Regions from separate parts of the Homo sapiens genome. Here region 2 is linked to region 1. Evidence: promoter capture Hi-C in 16 types of primary human blood cells and fetal thymus (Javierre and others, 2016). All regions are on one chromosome and are shown on one strand. Each heading gives the region's core, a stretch centred on a gene start or on the middle of the fragment in contact. The rest is flanking DNA. Distances are from core to core; before and after follow the strand shown. Region 1 holds the start of VWA5B2 (von Willebrand factor A domain containing 5B2). Region 2 has its middle 4.5 kb from the start of DVL3.

Region 1 (3,216 bases), core at 469-2,968:
ACTTGATTCACTGGCCCACGCGGGGCCGGATTGAGGTGTGCAGCCTAAAATAGTAAGGGGCCGGAGGGGACCACCAGGGGAGAAGGCTCCCTTTGCAGCCCCCTAGAGAGACCGGTCTCCTGGGCTGTAAGGGTTGCTGGCGCCCCCGCAAGCCCTGTGCTGCCTGCTGTGTCTGTCTCCCAGGCTGTGAACCTCCGGGCCATGTTCTCCCAGCACCTGGCGCAGGTCAGGTGCCCAGCCCACGACTGCTAAATACCAGGATGAGCCAATGAATGCACAAGGCAGTGCCCGGAGGAAGGCGGGGGACGGGCGGAGGCCGAGCGGATGCGGGAGCCTGAGCTGCGCCCGGCTTTCAGGAGCGCGGGTGCGGGCGCGCGGAACTCACCCTGCGCGCAGCGGCGGGGCGTCGGGGTCCCCAGCCCCGGGCCCAGAGCGCGGCAGCAGGCGGCCTGCGAGCGGCGCCGGCTCTGCAGCTGGAAGGAGACGCGCCGTCCGGCGGCCTCGGCCTCGAAGCCGGACACCACCTCGGCCTCGGCCAGCGGGTACACGAACACGCCTGGGGAGGGCGGCGGGAGGCGGCGTCGGACCCTGCCCGGCGCACCCCCCGCCGCGCCCGCGCCCCACCCGGGCCTCACCGTCCACCGGCTGCGGCTGCGGGTTGCGGTAGGTGAGCCGGGCCCGCACGCTGAGGCAGGGGCCGTTGGCGCAGGCCCGGACCCAGGAGTCCGTGAGCGGCAGCGGCGTCCAGCTGGAGGGGCAGTACAGGCCGGGCATGGCGCCGGGAGGCCGGCCCTGCGGGAACGGGCCGGGGAAGCTGGGCGCAGGGTGACGGGACGCCCACCCCGCGCTCCAGAGGCCAGCGCGAGAGTCTCACTCCAGCACCCGGACGGGGCCTGCCGGGGCGCGAGGCCGAGCGGGAGCTCCTGAGGGCGACAGGTGGCGGGGGAGATAAGGGGGCGGCAGGCGTGGTGGCGAGGAGGGCATCCTCACGCGTTACCTGGGCAGCCGGGCCGCGGAGGGTTAATGATTAACGCGCGCTTCGGCGCCCAGCAGTCCCGCCGCGGCTCCCCCGGGGGTGGGGGCGGTCACAGCTGTTCCACCGCCCACTCCCAACCTCGCAGCCACCCCCGTACCTGCCGGCCCCCCGGGGCCCCCCGCGGCCGCCAGCTGTCGGAAGCGGCGCGGGTGGAGATGGAAGATGCTCCGGGAAGGCGGAGGTTTAAAGGGCCCGAATCCCCCCGGAGGCCCCCGGCCCTGCGAGGGATCGCGGGGGCAGGGTGGATGGGGCGCCGAAAGGGCCTTGGTCTTTCTCTCCCTGGTGCCTCATCCGACGGGGGTGCTGGCCGGAGTGGAGGGGTTAAGGGTGGGAAGAACGAGCTGGGAAAGCGAAAAGAGGGGGTCTTTGGGAGGCAAGCCCGGGAGAGGTGTCGGGCCAGGGAGAGTCCGTGGGAGCCGCCAGGTTACCGCTCCCTACCCCGGCAGAGCTGATGTGGGAGGAGGGGGCACCTGCAGTGGCCGCGGCCCGCGCAGGGGATGCCGCGGGCTGGCTCTGGGGATCGCCCCGCTCCCTGTGGCAGTCTCAGCCTCACCGTCGCGCCCTCCGCGGAGTTCTAGGTGCCCACGGGATCCGTGTGGGTGGTGCCGCCTCTGCGCTCCGGGTGGCCCTCGGTCCCGGCACCTGCCGGCCGCCAGTTCGTGACTGTGGCTGCAGCGGCTCTGAGTCCCGGCAGGGGCGCGGGCCCTGCCGGCGGTGGTCCCGCCCCCGTTCCGAGAGGCCGCCCCTCCAGCCTGCCCTGGCCACGCCTGCTGCTGCTGCGGCGGGGCTGGCGCTCCCCCCTCCTTCGGGCGCGGTACCGCCTCCGCGCCAGCCGCGGCAGCCCGAGCCAGACTGGGCACCGCAGTGCAGGGACCGCGTCCCCGCCGCCGCACGGATCCCCGTCACTGCAGGACCGAGGCCTCAGAGACCCCACCCTTTCCATTCTTCAGGAATCAGGCGTCCTGCAAGTGCCACCGACACTGCCGCGACCCCAGCTATCCCATTACCACGACGGCATCCCATTCCCCAGCCCACCCCACCCCCTGCCCTGGGTTGCTTCCCATCGCTGCAGAGACCCTCCCTCCTGACTGCAGCGAACCCCCCAGCCCCCCATCACCGTCACCGCAGGACTCTTCCCCCAAGAAGCTGGCCCCTTTCCTTTGCAAAGTGCTCTTCATCACTGCAGAAAACCTCCCCCATCCCTGCAGGTACTTTTAGTTCATGCAGCCACTTCAGTGACCACTCACTCCAAGCAGGGATTCCTCATCACTGCAGCGACCTCCTCCCACCCCCAAGCAGCCGGCCTTGGCATCGCTGCAGTGCCAACCACTTCTGCTGGGGTGGGAGGGTGTGCACAATAGCGCCCTCAGCCTATAACCCCTTGGTCTCTTCAGCTGTGCGGGCCTTGGGAGTGAAGCCTTCTAGCCTGAAGAGCCTTCTTATGGCTGCAGACCGTCCCCTCATAGCAGTGACCCCCACCCATCACCGCAGCCCTGAAGAGAAAACATCTCTGCTTGTCAGGAGGGCCCCTTGTTATTGGCAGACTTTGCATGTGCTTGACAGTGTTATGCTGTCAAAAAGTAGGAAGGTCCGGAAAACCTCTCCCAGGTCCCCCAAGGAAGAGTCTGAGAGCCCTGGGGAAGTGAGAGGAGATGACCATGTTTGGGGATCATCCATGTAAGCTTTTTGGCAGATGCCATACTGAGATTCTGCAGAGAGAGCTTGAGGAGAGCTGGGGATGGAGGACAGCCAGTAGGAAGTGAGCTTTCGAGTCGGGCCCATGGTTCTCACTCCTCCGCATTAACTCTCTCCTTCTGATTTCAATCACTATCACCAGGGATCATCCCCCCGGGGGATCCCTGCCTCCTTGAGTATCTGAGCCCTCAACCCCAACCATCTCCTTTGCTCACCCTACTTAGCATGGTGGAGAGAGCTTGACCTTTTCCCAGGGAATTTCATGGGTGGAAATGCACAGGAATGATACAGGGAGCACAGACACAGTCACACGTACCCAACACACAGGGAGCTCCAGCTGGGTCCTAGCCCTCTTTCCATACTACCTGGGTCATGGTTCCATTCACCTCTCTCCCCCTTTCTCTACTGAGTCTGTTCTCAGCTTCATCCTGAACGAGGGTCCCTCTTTCAGGCCTAGGGAGAAACAGTGGATGGGCTGATGGTCC
Region 2 (3,216 bases), core at 536-3,035, 79 kb after region 1:
TTAAAATAGTGAAAGCACACTTTTTGGCTAAGTCAATATAGTACTTAGTAGTGACCTTATTTTGACTATGAGCAAATGTTCACCGCTAAGTCATGTGGAGTTTTTTTTGTTTTGTTTTTGTTTTTGTTTTTGATGGAGTCTCACTCTGTCGCCAGGCTGGAGTGCAGTGATGTGATCTCAGCTCATTGCAACCTCCACCTCCCGGGTTCAAGCGATAATTCTGCCTCAGCCTCCGAGTAGCTGGGATTACAGGCATGTGCCACCATACCTGCCCAACTCATTTTTGTATTTTTAGTAGAGACAGGGTTTTACCATGTTGGCCAGGATGGTCTCAATCTCTTGACCTCGTGATCCACCTGCCTTGGCCTCCCAAAGTGCTGTGATTACAGGCATGAGCCACCGCGCTGGCCTCATGTGTGTTTTATAATCGTTTCCTTTACAACTTTTTTGTTTCCTCTGACTTTAATCATTGCCTTGTGTTTTCATTTGTTTTAATATATTATACCTATCATTAGTTTTTCCCATGTAATCTAATAGTTTCTCAATACACATTTTGTTCATTCAGTCAAAGCTATTAGATAATCCATCAGTTCAATTTTTCCCTGGAGGCTTCCATCTTTTTTTTTTTTTTTTTTTAGATGGAGTCTCACTCTGTCGCCCAGGCTGGAGTGCAGTGGCGAGATTCCGGCTCACTGCAACCTCTGCCTCCCAGGTTCAAGTGATTCTCCTGCCTCAGCCTCCCAAGTAGCTGGGATTACAGGCGCCTGCCACCACGCCCAGCTAATATTGTATTTTTAGTAGAGACAGGGTCTCACCATGTTAGCCAGGCTGATCTGGAACTCCTGACCTCAGGTGATCGCTCGCCTTAGCCTCTCAAAGTGCTGGGATTACAGGCGTGAGCCACCACGCTTGGTGGAACCTTCCATTCTTTTGCTCTGGTCTGCACCGCCGGCTATCTCAGCCTGTGCACAGCTGTCATCCTGGGACTTCTCTGCATCCTCAAAATTCCCTTTACCTGTCTCTGTGTTGAATCTGTTTCCTGGATACTTTACTCCTTTGTTTTATTTACCTGTTTATTGAGACAAGGCCTTGCTCTGTTGCTCAGGTTGGAGTATAGTGAGGTAATCATGGCTCACTGCAGCCTCAAACTCCTTGGCTCAAGCGATCCTATCGAAGTGCTGGGATTATAGGTGTGAACCACCGTACCCAGCCAACAATAAATTCTTGAATTAAGACCAGGTCCATGCCTGTAATCCCAACGCCACTGCACTCCAGCCTGGGTGACAGCGACACTCCTTCTCAAAAAAACAAACAAACAAAAAAGTAGCCGTGTGTGGTGGTAAGCACCTGTAATCCCAGCTACTCAGGAGACTGAGGCACGAGAATCGCGTGAACCCGGGAGGTGGAGATTGCAGTGAGCTGAGACCACATCACTGCACTCCAGCCTGGGCAACAGAACAAAACTCAGTCTAAAAGAAAAAAAAAAACGGAAAAATGGTAATTAAAATGTTCTTTTTTTTTGAGACAGAGTCTCACTCTGTCACTCAGGCTGGAGTGCAGTGGTGTGGTCTCAGCTCACTGCAATCTCCACCTCCTGGGTTCAAGTGATTCTCGTGCCTCAGCCTCCTGAGTAGCTGGGATTACAGGTGCACACCACCACATGCGGCTAACTTTTTTTTTCTTTTTTTTTTTTTTTGAGAAGGAGTCTCACCCTATCATCCAGGCTGGAGTGCAGTGGAGCTATCTCGGCTCACTGCAACCTCTGCCTCCTGGGCTCAGGCGATTCTCCTGCCTCAGCCTCCTGAGTAGCTGGGATTACAGGCATGCACCACCATGCCCAGCTAATATTTTGTATTTTTAGTAGAGACAGGGTTCCACCATGTTGGCCAGGATTGTCTCAAACTCCTGACCTCAGGTGATCTGCCCGCCTCAGCCTCCCAAAGTGCTGGGATTACAGGTGTGAGCCACCATGCCCAGCCCTAATTTTGTATATATTTTTTTGTCTTTGTATGAGATTTTATTAAAGGTCTTTACAGAGCAACATCCAGACTCCAGAATACAGCTGCTAAGGAGACCCTGTTATGCTGTAGGGACTGGCTGGGGCATGGCAGATGGCTCTGGCTTCCCACCCTTCTGTTCTGAGATGGGGGTGGTGGGCAGTATCTCATCTTTGGGTTCCACGATGCTCACGTGGTCAGGCAGGGGCTTCTTAGGGCCAGTCTTACCAGTTGGGTCCCAGGGCAGCATGATCTTCACCTTGATGCCCAGCACACCCTGTCTGAGCAACACGTGGCACACAGCAGTGCCAACGTAGTAGTTAATAGGGTCTCCACTGTGGATCGTCAGGCCATCCACAAACTTCATGGATTTAGCCCTCTGTCCTCGGAGTTTCCCAGACGCCATGACCTTGCAGCCTTTGGCCCCACTCTCCATGATGAACCGCAGCACACCATAGCAGGCCCTCCACACAGCAAGCCCTCCTAGGAGTTTGTAACGCAGAGACTCTGCCTGGGCAATGGCACACAGACCTCTAGTGGCAACCTTTTCAGCATAAAGCTCTACACTGCCCTCTGGAAAGCCAAACCTCTTCTGAACTATAGCAGTCAGTTCCCGAATCCGTCAGCCCTTCTCACCAGGAATATTCTGTGTTCTGGTGGCTAAGATAATGATTTCTGTCCTGGTTGGTGTAACTTGCATCTCAACTCCAGAGTAGCCATCTTCAGCCAGCTCCTGAGTAAGAAACTCATTCAGTTCAGCTTTGAAGATGTCATCAGTGACAAACATCCTCTTCTTGGAAATTTGCACAGCCATCTTGCCGCCACGCTCCACTGAAAGGAAAGGCCTAATTTTGTATTTTTAATAGACACAGGGTTTCACCACATTGGCCAGTCTGGTATCAAACTCCTGGGCTTAAGTTATCCTCTGCCAACCTTGGCCTCCCAAAGTGCTGGGATTACAGGTGTGAGTCACATCACACCCAGCCTTTTTTTTTTTTTTTTGGAGGCAAGGTCTTGCTCTGTCTTCCTGGCTGGAGTGCAGTGGTGTGATCATAGCTCACTGCAGCCTCGAACTGGGCACAAGTGATCCTCCCACCTCAGTCTCCCGAGTAGCTGGGACTACAGGCACACACCACCACCCTTGGCTGATAATTTAAAATTTTTTGTCGAGATGGGATCTTGCTATGTTGCCCAGCTGGTCCCAAATTCCTGGCATCAA

Evidence for each region. The method cuts DNA at HindIII sites, captures the fragments that hold promoters and counts their contacts. A CHiCAGO score of 5 or more calls a contact.
Region 2: a fragment that was not itself captured here is called in contact with the fragment with the promoter of VWA5B2 in region 1 in 1 of 17 cell types (endothelial precursors); the score reaches 6.0 in endothelial precursors.

Annotation. Positions count from the first base shown.
Region 1 is chr3:184,228,087-184,231,302 of GRCh38, reverse strand. VWA5B2 (von Willebrand factor A domain containing 5B2) reads right to left here and starts at 1,718. Exons shown (of 20, transcript NM_001390846.1): 1 at 1,590-1,718; 2 at 636-923; 3 at 386-556. The coding sequence starts at 774. RefSeq lists a silencer at 1,611-1,950. The HindIII fragment of the contact is 8,832 bases long and covers 1-2,720 here.
Region 2 is chr3:184,149,299-184,152,514 of GRCh38, reverse strand. It overlaps the pseudogene RPS3P3. Among named protein-coding and RNA genes, the nearest start is that of DVL3, 4.5 kb to the left of the region's middle. The HindIII fragment of the contact is 3,986 bases long and covers 1-3,216 here.